Linked DNA regions of Homo sapiens: all the other regions are linked to region 1. The links are contacts of gene promoters, found by promoter capture Hi-C in human tissues and cell types (Jung and others, 2019). All regions are on one chromosome and are shown on one strand. The core of a region is centred on a gene start or on the middle of the fragment in contact, and the rest is flanking DNA. Distances in the headings are between cores, read along the strand shown.

The links. Contacts are between HindIII fragments. The study calls those that stand out against the background at their distance.
Region 2: a contact is called between a fragment that was not itself captured here and the fragment with the promoter of OPTN in region 1, in 1 of the 25 tissues and cell types used here (heart left ventricle).
Region 3: a contact is called between a fragment that was not itself captured here and the fragment with the promoter of OPTN in region 1, in 2 of the 25 tissues and cell types used here (dorsolateral prefrontal cortex and mesenchymal stem cells).
Region 4: a fragment that was not itself captured here is called in contact with the fragment with the promoter of OPTN in region 1 in 2 of the 25 tissues and cell types used here (dorsolateral prefrontal cortex and mesenchymal stem cells).
Region 5: a fragment that was not itself captured here is called in contact with the fragment with the promoter of OPTN in region 1 in 1 of the 25 tissues and cell types used here (mesendoderm cells).

What each region holds. Positions count from the first base shown.
Region 1 is chr10:13,098,897-13,101,420 of GRCh38, forward strand. It overlaps OPTN (optineurin), which reads left to right and starts at 1,267. Exons shown (of 15, transcript NM_001008212.2): 1 at 1,267-1,406. It also overlaps a transcript of CCDC3 not described here. RefSeq lists silencers at 543-602, 1,073-1,642 and an enhancer at 1,923-2,052. The HindIII fragment of the contact is 16,289 bases long and covers 1-2,524 here.
Region 2 is chr10:12,134,704-12,137,227 of GRCh38, forward strand. SEC61A2 (SEC61 translocon subunit alpha 2) reads left to right here. Exons shown (of 12, transcript NM_018144.4): 3 at 1,402-1,467. Among named protein-coding and RNA genes, the nearest start is that of MIR548AK, 5.2 kb to the left of the region's middle. The HindIII fragment of the contact is 9,956 bases long and covers 1-2,524 here.
Region 3 is chr10:12,292,570-12,295,093 of GRCh38, forward strand. No RefSeq gene overlaps it. Among named protein-coding and RNA genes, the nearest start is that of CAMK1D, 56 kb to the right of the region's middle. The HindIII fragment of the contact is 5,976 bases long and covers 1-2,524 here.
Region 4 is chr10:12,328,017-12,330,540 of GRCh38, forward strand. It overlaps the pseudogene RN7SL198P. Among named protein-coding and RNA genes, the nearest start is that of CAMK1D, 20 kb to the right of the region's middle. The HindIII fragment of the contact is 7,709 bases long and covers 1-2,524 here.
Region 5 is chr10:12,442,125-12,444,648 of GRCh38, forward strand. All of the region lies in intron 1 of CAMK1D (calcium/calmodulin dependent protein kinase ID), which reads left to right. Among named protein-coding and RNA genes, the nearest start is that of CAMK1D, 94 kb to the left of the region's middle. The HindIII fragment of the contact is 6,305 bases long and covers 1-2,524 here.

The DNA of each region.
Region 1 (2,524 bases), core at 17-2,516:
AGTAGAGACAGGCTTTCACCATATTGGCCAGGCTGGTCTCGAACTCCGGACCTTGCGATCTGCCTGCCTTGGCCTCCCAAAGTGCTGGGATTACAGGCGTGAGCCACCGCGCCTGGCCCTCCTGCACTGATATAAAAAGAATTTTTTTAAATTCTCTATTTCTCCCCACTCCCACCCCCAGGCTCACTCCTTATAAAGCAGCCTCTAGCCTCATCTGCCCCTCCTACACCACACCAACTCGAGGGCCCGGAATTGGGTCTGGGGCAGTCGCTGACTTGCTTGCTTCTCTGCCCTGCTCTTGGGGTTAGCCTCAGGGGCAGGGTTGAGAGTCAGGCTTGGCCAGGCAGCAGGAGGTCCAGACAGCGAAGCAGAATCCTTCGGAGATACCAGGAGAGGGCGCATCTGCCTTTTTCCTGTTTCAGATTAGGTTTTGTTGTTGTTGTTTTGTTTTTTTTCTCTCCCTCTCTCCCTCCCTCCCTCTCTCCCTCCCTCTCTCCCTCTCTCCGTCCCTCCCTCTCTCTCTCTCTCCCCCTCCCTCCTTCCCTCCCTCCCATCCCTGCAGCGCTACCCGGGTACTCTGGATGCACATAGGGCGGCTCTCGCTCCTACCTTGTCATCCTGCTGTCTAATCCGGGGGCAGCTTCCCTCCTCCACACCAGCAGAGGCTATTCTTCAGCAACAAGAATAGCCGAGCCTATTCGTCCGCAACAAGAGCCCAAGAAGCATCCTGCAGGCTTTCTGCTTTTTGAGTGTATTTTAAAGCAAAAACGAGTGGAAAGCTATGTATGCTCAGTTAACTATGTCTAGATGTTAACCTTTTTTCAAAAAACACAGATGGAGGCCTCCCTCCGAGGATGCCTGGCATTCTCCTCTTTCTGTGGGCGGCAGCGACCCCCTGCGGCTCCAGCCTCCACTACGGGATCTGCGGGAAGACACGGGGAAGACGAACTCCGCACACTGCATTTGATTAATGATTTATTTTGATTAACGCCGTCACAGTGACGCCTTAGAGCAGTCCCTGTTCACCCGGGTCCCAGCCTCGACCCCGCACGGACAGCGAGGGTGGGTAGCTGGGGGCGGACGCAGGAAAGAGGAGGGGCGGGGCCTTGGTCGGGTGGGGTATGGAATGGGCAGGGTGGGGGGGATGGGCGGGGTATGGGATGGGCGGGGCCCGGGAAATTCCCCGGCGCGGGCAGGGAGCGGCTGGCTGTCAGCTGAGCCGCGCTGGGCGGGGTCGCCAGGCCGCGCATCAGCCCTAGGCACCCCAGTCCCGGCTGCCCCCTCCGCCACCGCCGCCGCCCGCCGGCAGGTTCCCTGGTCAGCGTCCCATCCCGGTCGGGAGTTCTCTCCAGGCGGCACGATGCCGAGGAAACAGTGACCCTGAGCGAAGCCAAGCCGGGCGGCAGGTGAGCCAGGGCAGGGGGCTGCAGCGGTGGGCGAGGGGGCGGCGGCTCCTTCCCGGCGGGCGCTTCCGCGGCCTGAAAACGGTACCCGCCGCCCTGCCCCGCGGCCCGGAGCCTGTCGGGGTGAGGGTGGCGAGGGGTGGGGCGGCCCTCCCGCGAGACGGCTGCCCTGGGAGGATCCCCAAGCCTCGGCGGGTCCTGACCTGGTGGGAGAGGGTGGGTAGTGAACACAGGGTGGGCCCAAGAAGGGTCCAGGGCCGGCCTCTTGGCCGCAGGTAACCCCTCTACAAGTCACCCAGAGACTTGGAGGTGACGTCCTCCCGCAGGCTGGGAAGGATTCCGCAGCCAGTTCCTCGCCATAAGGAGGTGGTTACAGACACGCCTGTGGGAGACATGGGACCACTACCCGAGCTGAATGAGGTGCCCAGGGTCGGTGGGAATCCACATAGACTGCTGTGTCTAGGAGAGTGTGTACACTCTATATAGAGAGAATATTTGATGAGGCCGAGAACCCCAAAGGAATTGTTTTTGCCATCGAAATGCATAAGCTACAGGAAGTAAACATCGCTCAAAGAAAATGAAACCCAGGTTCCGACCTGGCCTCCACCAGCAGGAAAACTGTTGTATGGAAATGTACACCAAGGAACTGTTTGTAAGGATGAAATGGAAAATGAAAGCATAGAAAAGTAAGGCAATGTGAGGACCTCAGAAGCCTTTGGATCTGGTTAGCAAGGTGCAGGCTGTGTGAACAGAAGAACCCACCTTGCTCTTTTGACCCAGGGAGAGAAGAGTTAGTGGTGCCAGGCTGCCTCCCAGGACAGGCCCAGTTTTGGGGCGGGGGCTGGAGAAGTCCCAGGGCAGACCCCAAGGCCAGGGATTGCCCTGGAGTGGACAAGGCAAGTTTAAATGTGACCTGTAGACAGAGGACGATCATTGATTTAAGTCCTGGCATAATTCATCTGTTTTTCCACTGGGCCAATTTTAGGCGTTCTTTATATATTACGTACAACACAATAAAAGTAACAGCTTCTTTTTTTATAAACTAACCTTTAGGTTGCATATTATGCTAGGAATATAACTAACCTAACCTCCACCCCCCCACCCCCCCACCCACCCCCGGA
Region 2 (2,524 bases), core at 13-2,512, 960 kb before region 1:
TCAAGAGATGGGGACCATCCTTGCCAACATGGTGAAGCCCCGACTCTACTAAAAATACAAAAAAATTAGCTGGGCGTGGTGGCGTGCGCCTGTAGTCCCAGCTTCTCGGGAGGCTGAGGCAGGAGAATCGCTTGAACCTGGGGTGGTAGAGGTTGCAGTGAGCCGAGACTGCGCCACTGCGCTGCAGCCTGGGCAACAGGGTGAGACTCTGTCTCAAAAAAAAAAAAAAGAAAAAAAGTCTACCTAGGATAGTACTTCAAAAAGGGGCATTTAAGAGTGAATAATAGGATGTCACGATGGGGAACTTTAGTTACGTTTTTGTGTGGATTTGTGCTTTAAATTTGCTGTTTCGAAAACCAAACACCACATGTTCTCACTCGTAAATGGGAGCTGAATAGTGAGAACACGTGGATACAGGGAGGGGGAACATCACACAGGGGCCTGTGGGGGTAGGGGGAAAGGGGAGGGAGAGCATTAGGACAAATACTAATGCATGCGGGGCTTAAAACCTAGACGACAAGTTGATAGGTGCAGCAAACCACCATGGCATATGTCTGCCTATGTAACAAACCGGCACGTTCAGCACATGTATCCTAGAACTTAAAGTAAAATTTAAAACAATAATAATAAAATAAAAATATTTAAGGTAAAAATTTTGAAGTAAAAGAGAAACTGAAAAATCTAGATTTGAAAATTCTTTCCTCAGTAAAAGTAGATTTAAAAAAATATAAGCTTAATTTTTTAGAACATATTTCTCTTTTTAAATTTGTATAAATATAAGTAGCACAAATGCAGTTTTGTTACATGAATGTATTATGTAGTGGTGAAGTCTGGGCTTTGAGTGTATCCATCACCCAGATAACGTTCATTGTACCCATTAAGTAATTTCTCATCATCCATCTTTTCCTGCCACCCCTGTACCCTTCGGAGACTCCACTTCTGTCATTCCATATTCTATGTCCATGTGTACACATTGTTTAGCTCCTACTTTTAAGTGAGAGCCCACAGTGTTTGACTTTCCACTTCTGAGTTGTTTCACTTAAGATAACCTCCTCCAGTTCGTTCCATCCAGGTTGCTGCAAGGGACATGGTTTCATTCTTTTCATGGCTCAGAAGTATTTCATTATTTATATACAGCATATCTTCTTTATCCAGTCATCAAGAAGCATCTGTGCATGTGTGTCTGTATATATGTGTGCGTGTGTGTATATGTATGAGAGAGAAAAAAATGTTTGTAAAACTTTGTACCTAATAAACAAAAATGCTTCCTTTATAACACATAACGGACATTCCCAATTTCTGTGAATTAGGCCCCAAAGAATAACCTCAAAACTCTGCTGCCCCCCAAAAATTTGCTGTTTCTTGGTTTTGATTGATGATTCTTTACATTTTGTTGTACAGATCCAGTTTAGAGAGAAGGTTCTGTGGACTGCTATAACGCTCTTCATTTTCTTAGTGTGTTGTCAGGTATGTAACTATACTATTAAATAAATGTCTGCACCATTGTTCTAAGGTTTTGATTGGTTAGAATTTGAGAATTTTTTTTGTTAAAATAAAGAATACATTGAGCTCAATATATTGAGCATTATTATCCTTTTTATTTTTTATTATTAATTTTTTTTTGAGATGGAGTCTCACTCTGTTGCCCAAGCTGGATGCAGGGGCATGATCTCGGCTCACCGCAACCTCTGCCTCCTGGGTTCAAGTGATTCTTCTTCCTTGGCCTCCCAAGTAGCTGGGACTACAGGTTCCTACTACCATGCCCAGCTAAAGTCTCGCTCTGTTGCCCAAGCTGGATGCAGGGGCATGATCTCAGCTCACTGCAACCTCTGCCTCCTGGGTTCAAGTGACTCTTCTTCCTTGGGCTCCCAAGTAGCTGTGGGACTACGGGTGCCTACCACCATGCCCAGCTAATTTTTGTATTTTTGTTTTATTTTATTTTTTGAGATGGAGTTTCACATTGTTGCCCAGGCTGGAGTGCAGTGGTATGATCTCGACTCACTGCAACCTCTGCCTCCCCAGTTCAAGTGATTCTCCTGCCTCAGCCTCCCGAGTAGCTGGGATTACAGGTGCATGCCACCAAGCTCAGCTAATTTTTGTATTTTTAGTAGAGATGGGGTTTCACTATATTGACCAGGCTAGTCTCGAACTCCTGACCTCAAGCTATCCACCTTCTTCAGCCTCCCAAAGTGTTGGTATTATAGGCGTGAGCCACCACGCCCAGCTGAATTTTTGTATTTTTAGTAGAGATGGGGTTTTGCTGTGTTGTTCAGGCTTATCTCGAACTCCTGACCTCAGGTGATCTACCTGCCTCAGCCTCCCAAATTGCTGGGATTACAGGCGTGAGCCACCACACCCTTTTTTATCTGGCAATTTTTTGTTTTTAAATAGAGACGGGGTCTATGTTGCCCAGGCTGGTCTCCAGCTCCTAGGCTCAGGTGATGCTCCTGCCTCAGCCTCCCTAGTAGGTAGGACTGCAGGTGTGCCCCACCATGTCTGGCTAATTTTTCAATTCTTTTGCAGG
Region 3 (2,524 bases), core at 11-2,510, 810 kb before region 1:
CCTTAAGTGATCCACCCACTTTGGTCTCCCAAAATGTTATGATTACAAGCGTGAGCCACTGTGCCTGGCCCAAAGTATATGCATTGTTTCAAGACTTCTCCAAATTGCCAAATTCTTTCCTTTAGTGTCTTTTCCTCAAATACTTGCCAACAGTAGGCACTAGTCTAATCTTGCCTTTTATCTGATACGTTTTTCTGGTTTTGACATAAACTGGTGTTTTTACAGCACTGACAACTAGATCAATGTGCACAGAGTAAAGTAGAATTGGTTTTCAGTTCCAGGAGAGAATGTAGCGAGAGCTCCTTCCCCCAGGAGATGCTGGCGTAAGACAGAGAGCTGCGGTGTCTATTCGTGTTGATTTCTCCTTTTGTGCTCTAAAGACAAGCTTCTTGATCAGATAGGATCTGGGCATAATGAAGCCACCATCAGCCACATTTTATTCACATGCCGGCCTCTCAACTCTGCAGCTGTCTTATTTCTTGCTGCCCACACTTCCCGTGCTTTCTTCAGGCCCCAACAATCCTGTTCTTTATCCCTTCCTTCTTCTTCTCCAAACCTGTCCTCAGGAAAAGATCTGGTATCAGCCATTCCCACCTTGACAGAAATTGGAATCAAAGAGTGCATTCTTCTAGTTGTTTGCATTTATCTATTTATTTTTGTTTATTTGTTTGAGATGGAGTCTCACTCTGTGGCCCAGGCTAGGGTGCAGTGGTGCAGTCTTGGCTCCTGCCACCCTTACCTCCAGGTGATTCTCCTGCCTCAGCCTCCCGAGTAAATGAGATTATAGGTGTGCGCCACCATGCTTGGCTAGTTTTTTTTGTATTTTTAGTAGAGATGGGGTCTCGCCATACTGGCCAGGCTGGTCTCGAACTCCTGACCTCAAGTGACCCACCCGCCTTGGCCTCCCAAAGTGTTGCGATTACAAGCTTGAGCCACCGCGGCCGGCCAAAAGCATCGTTCTTAATGAAAAAAATATATCAACTGAAGGTTTGTTTTTTTTTTGTTTGTTTAAACAACCCCTATGTGTCAACCACATTAAGCCTGGCTTCGTAGCATTAAGATGCTCCTGACTACCTGGGGAAACTCAACTTTCCACATAGACCATTACTGAAGTGGCACTGAGCAGAAGACAGGAGGGGTGTCCACGTGGGAAGGGTGTGTGATTCTCCTTGTCAAGGGTTTCAGCATCGTTCTTCAGTATGCACCCATGGTACTGAAACCAGCCTAAGAGTCCCAGAGACAGTTGTTTCTGGATAAACATAGAAATGAATCCTTCTGCTGTTAAAGCTTGAAACTTGTATTTTTTTAAATTTGAGTTCCTTCCTCGGGAAAAGCCTTTCGGGCCTATAAAAAAGGTATCTGCCGGGCCCCTTGGTTCACACCGGTAATCCCAGCACTTTGGGAGGCTGAGGCAGGCCGATCACAAAGTCAGATCGAGAGTATCCTGGCTAACACGGTGAAACCCCGTCTCTACTAAAAATAGAAAATATTAGCCAGGCGTGGTGGCATGTGCCTGTAGTCCCAGCTACTTGGGAGGCTGAGGCAGGGGAACTGCTTGAACCTGGGAGGTGGAGGTTGCAGTGAGCCGAGATCACGCCACTGCACTCCAGCCTGGGTGACAAAGCAAGACCCTGCCTCAAAAAAAAAAAAAAAAAAAAAAAAAATAGTATCGGCTGGGTGCAGTGGCTCACGCCTGTAATCCCAGCACTTTGGGAGGCCGAGGTGGGCAGATCACGAGGTCAAGAGTTTGAGACCATCCTGGCCAACATGATGAAACCCTGTCTCTACTAAAAATACAAAAAATAGCTGGGTGTGGTGGCGGGCGCCTGTAGTCCCAGCTACTTGGGAGGCTGAGGCAGGAGAATGGCATGAACCCGGGAGGTGGAGGTTGCAGTGAGCCGAGATCCCACCACTGCACTCCAGCCTGGCGATAGAGCGAGACTCAGTCTAAAAAAAAAAGAAAAGTATCAAAGAACTGAAACTCAGGGATTCAGGGTAGCAGGTGCCTCCTTGGCACTCCCTGGTTCCTGTTTTCTTACACATTGTTACATTTCTTCCCTGCTGTAGTAAAGCCTAGTTTTAGTCAGTCAGGGAGATGGATTTGAGACTGAGCTCCCACCTCCTTGGTTGCAGCACCCAGTGAAAGCCTTCTTCCTTGGCAGTAGTTGAAATCTCAGAGAATGGCTCTCTGTGCAGCAAGGAACAGGACCTGGATGGAAATCCGGGGTTTCTCAGTAACAGCATGCTGGTCAACCAGTTCTCTATGGGAAAAGTAAGCCCACATTTGTATCATTTGCTGATATTCATGGTGTAAATACATGTGGCCGATTCAGGCTACTAATAGTATAACAACTGGCTCATGGTATTCCTGTTTACCAGCCAGTCACGATGGCTCACACCTGTAATCCCAGCACTTTGGGAGGCCGCAGCAGGAGGATCACTTGAGGTCAGGAGTTTGAGACCAGCCTGGCCAAAATGGTGAAACCCCACTAAAAATACAAAAATTAGCCAGGTGTGGTGGTGG
Region 4 (2,524 bases), core at 17-2,516, 770 kb before region 1:
GGAGTCTGAGACAAGCCTGGGCAACATAGTGAGACCCCCATCTCTACAAAAATAATTTTAAAAAAATTAACTGGGCATGGTGGCATGCACCAGTAGCCCCAGCTACTCAGAAGGCTGAGGCAGGTGGATCCCTTGAGCCCAGGAGTTCAAGGCTACAGTGAGCTGTGATGGCACCACTACACTCCAGCCTGGGTGACAGCAAGATTTTGTCTCTGAAACATTTTTTTTTTTTTTGAGACTCACTCTGTCCCCAGGCTGGAGTGCACTGGTGCCATCTCAGCTCACTGCAACCTCCACCTCCCTGCTCCAAGTGATTCTCCTGCCTCAGCCTCCTGAGCAGCTGGGATTACAGGTGAGCGTCACCACACCCAGCTGATTTTTTATATTTTAGTAGAGATGGGGCTTCGCCATGTTGCCCAGGCTGGTCTCAAACTCCTGACCTCAGGTGATCCACCCATCTTGGCCTCCCAAAGTGCTGGGATTACAGGTATGAGTCACTGTGCCCGGTCTGAAACTTTTTTTTTTTGAGACAGAGTTTGCACTGTCACCCAGGCTGGAGTGCAGTGGTGCTATCTCGGTTCTCTGCAAGCTCGGTCTCCCGGGTTCACGCCATTCTCCTGCCTCAGTCTCCTGAGTAGCTGGGACTACAGGCGCCCACCACCAAGCCCGGCTGTTTTTTGTATTTTTAGTAGAGGTGGGGTTTCACCGTGTTAGCCAGGATGGTCTCCATCTCCTGACCTCGTGATCCGCCCACCTTGGCCTCCCAAAGTGCTGGGATTACAGGCGTGAGCCACTGTGCACGGCTGAAACTTTTTTTTTTAAACCAAGCTTTGAACTTGGACTAAGGTGGTTCCAGAATGGTGATGCCCCAAGGCTTGGCAGATACAGCTAAAAAAAAAAAAAACCCCAAAAACAAAAAACAAAACAAAAAAATCCCAACATGTATTTAAAGATAAAACCATATCAGAAAACTGCACTCTTGGGGATCAAGATCAAATCTTCATATCAGCATCTACTGTGCAGAAGATCCTGTTTCCCTTTGTTAGTTTCTAAACCTGGTTGTTAGATTAATACAATCATTCTTACTTCATTTTAATTTTTTACTTGATATGATTTTTTTTTTGAGACAGAGTCTTGCTCTGCCACCCAGGTTGGAATGCAGTTGCACAATTTCGGCTCACTGCAACCTCCACCTCCCAGGTTCAAGCAATTCTCCCGCCTCTGCCTCCTGATTAGCTGGAATTACAGGCATGTGCCACCACACCCGGCTAATTTTTGTATATTTTAGTAGAGACGAGGTTTTGCCATGTTGGCCAGGCTGGTCTTGAACTCCTGACCTCAGGTGATCCGCCTGCCTAGGCCTCCCAAAGTGCTGGGGTTACAGGCGAGAACCACCGCGTTCGGCCCCTTGATATGATTTTGAACAGGATCTTTATCTTCAGTGAAAGGCTGATATTCCATTTCTTTATGGAAACAGTCTTGACTGTTTGGGCACTTGGGCTGTTTCCAGTTTTGGGCTATTAGAGATAATGCCAGCTTCTTTGTCAGCTGACGTCAGTGAAAATGGTGAAATGTGTCTATTGTCAAACCTTGACACTGTGTTCAGGCCCATTTCAGAAGTATCTTTCGGTGCTTGAAATTTGGCATCCTCTATAGTATAAACAAGATTAACAAAAATTGATTCCTTTGCCTCCCAAGGGAAAAACTCAGGCTATTTCCAAAGGAGATCAAAGAAGGATGTTCAAAATGGAATTCAGAGTCACTGTGGAATCTTAATGATAAACTTTGGTATTTCCTTTGACCAAAATTATTTTAATAAATGCTCTAGCAAACATTGCCACTGGTACATTTTTTTTTTTTTTTTTAACCAAGGAGTGATTTAGAAATGGTAAGGTGATTTACCTTAAGCCATAGAAGCTGGGGTGCTGACTGACTCATTCTGTATTCTTCTGCAGCTTTTTAGATAAAGAATTACCATAATTTTTTTTTTCTTTTTGAGATGGGGGTCTCACTCTGTCACCCAGGCAGGAGTGCAGTGGCACCATGATGGCTCACTGCAGCCTTGACCTCCCAGGCTCAAGCAATCCTCCCACATCAGCCTCCCCAGTAGCTGGGACCAAGGCACATACCATCATGCTCAGTTATTTTTTTGTATTTTTGGTAGAGATGGGGTTTTGTCACATTGCCCAGGCTGGTATCACTCTTGGCCTCAAGCAATCCTCCCACCTTGATCTCCCACAGTGCTGGAATTACAGGTGTGAGCCACCATGCCTGGCCAAGAATTACCATAATTTTATAATCAGAACAACTGAGTAACCGAAGTATGCTTTTATTTCATGCTCAAATAAAACTGATCAAGTCATCTTGTTTTTCAAGTGAAAATTCCTGACAACAACAGTAGCTACTATTTATTGACTGCCTTTGGTTTAGGTATTTTACAGTCACTCACTGTCTAATGTTCTTAAAACAACCTGGCAAAGTAAATACAGATGCTCTCTGACTTATATGATTGGGTTCTGTCCTG
Region 5 (2,524 bases), core at 13-2,512, 660 kb before region 1:
GTAAAATGTTAACTCTAGGCTCAAGGACCTATGAAGGTAGTCTTTCTTAATAACTTGTTTTTCTTAAAACTTTGAGGCCGGGCGCGGTGGCTCATGCCTGTAATCCCAGCACTTTGGGAGGTCAAGGCAGGCGGATCACGAGTTCAGGAGATGGAGACCATCCTGGCTAACATGGTGAAACCTCGTCTCTACTAAAAATACAAAAAATTAGCCAGATGTGGTGGCAGGTGCCTGTAGTCCCACCTACTCAGGAGGCTGAGGCAGGAGAATGGCGTGAACCCGGGAGGCAGAGCTTGCTCTGAGCTGAGATTGCGCCACTGCACTCCAGCCTGGGTGACAGAGAGAGGCTGTGTCTCAAAAACAAGCAAACAAAAAAACTTTGATTTCTCTTAGACGTTATATGGAAATGGAATTTTATTCTGTGAATGTTTTATTTCAGATAGACTTGCAAAGCCCTTCTATACATAGACACTGTTTTTAGTTTTTTTGTCACCCCAAACCTCAAAAATGCATCTCAGCTTGAAAGACTTTCTAGACTTTTCCTGAGTCCAAAGTCATCCTGCTGATATCATGGTTTAGGTTCTGAAAGGTTTTATATCGAGTGTTTTTTTCTTCTTTCCTAAGAAGGAAAGGATCAGAAAGGAACTTGTAACCATTGTTGAGCATTTTAGGAAAAGTGAAAACCGACTTCATCCGTTTCATTTGTAAGGAGAAGCATGTTAGATGTGAGTATATTTGGAAACGTCCAAAATTTAACCATGACAAGAGACAGCAGTGTGATGGCAAATTTCAGGCCAAAGTCTGGAATTTCTTTGCTTTCTTCCCATTTTATCTTGTCTTCTCATTTCTTTTACTTTTCTACTTCTCTTCTCTCACTATTTCTTTGCTTTCTAACGTTTCCCATCAATTTTGAGCCATTTTCTTTATTCCATCTACATATGAACTCACAGCAGTAGCAAAAATACTGAGCTCTCAGAAATATATTTATCCATGTATCTAAGGACTCTGGAAAACAGATTCAAAGATGTGAAGCCTCAGTAGTGAAACTGACTCGAGGAGGAAAGACGTTTATGTGCGGCAGATCTTCTCGGGGTTTGCCTATTTGTAAAATGTATTCAGTATTCATGGAACAGATATGATGGGTGCTCACTCTACACCAGGTACCATGGTCAAACAGAGAGGGCTAACCTATGTTGCCTCCATTCTGAGAATCTCTGCGGTGACACAGGAGGGGACAGAAACAAGGATAGAAGCTTGTAGTTGCAATATAGTGTCGTGATGACCTTCACGAAGGCACGAACCATGTGTTGTGCTCGTATAGTCGTGTTACAGGAAAGGGGTCCTGATCCAGACCCCAAGAGAGGGTTCTTGGATCTCACACAAGAAAGAATTCAGGGTGAGTTTATAGAGTAAAGTGAAAGCAAGTTTCTTCGGAAGGTAAAGGAATAAAAGAATGGCTATTCCATAGAGCAGCCCTGAGGACTGCTGGTTTCCTATTTTATTTTATTTTTTTTTTTATTTTTGAGACGGAGTCTCGTTCTTTTGCCCAGGCTGGAGTAAAGTGGAGTGATCTTGGCTCACTACAGCCTCCGCTCCCCGGGTTCAAGCGATTCTCCTGCCTCAGCCTCCTGAGTAGCTGGGATTATAGGCACCTACCACCATGCCCGGCTAATTTTTGTATTTTCAGTAGAGACGGAGTTTCACCATGTTGGCCAGGATGGTCTCGAACTTTTGACCTCAAGTGATCCAGCCACTTTGGCCTCCCAGAGTTCTGGGATTATAGGCATGAGCCACTGTGCCCAGCCTGGTTTCCCATTTTTATGGTTCTTTCTGGATGATATGCTAAACAAGGGACAGATTATTCATGCCCCCCCTTTTTAGACCATATAGGGTAACTTCCTGTCGTTACCATGGCATTTGTAATCTGTCATGGCGCTGGCGGGAGTGTAGCAGTGAGGACAACCAGAGGTCACTGTCATCGCCATCTTGGTTTTGGTGGGTTTTGGCCAGCCGGCTTCTTTACTGCAACCTGGTTTATCAGCAAGGTCTTTATGACCTGTGTTTTGTGCCAATCTCCTATCTTATTCTGTGACTTGGAATGCCTTAACCATCTGGGAATGCAGCCCAGTAGGTCTCAGCCTTATTTTACCCAGCTCCTATTCAAGATGGAGTTGCTCTGGTTCAAACGCCTCTGACAGTCAGGCATAAGAACCATGATGGAAACCTGCGTTTCCTTGGCCTCTGAGGCTTTGAGGAGGTGTATATGCTGATGTCGATGAAAAGAGTCAAACTCTGTAAAATATTTAAGGAGGTTTCTTCTGAGCCAAATATCAATGACCAAGGCCTATGATACAGCCCCAGGACGTCCTGTGAACATGTGCCCAAGGTGGTTGGGGTGCAGCTTGGTTTTATACATTTTAGAGGGACAGAAGTTAGAGGCAGACATCAGTCAATATCGTATTTAAGGTGTACATTGGTTTGGTCTAGAAAGCCAGAACAATTTGAAGCAGGGATTTCCAAAATC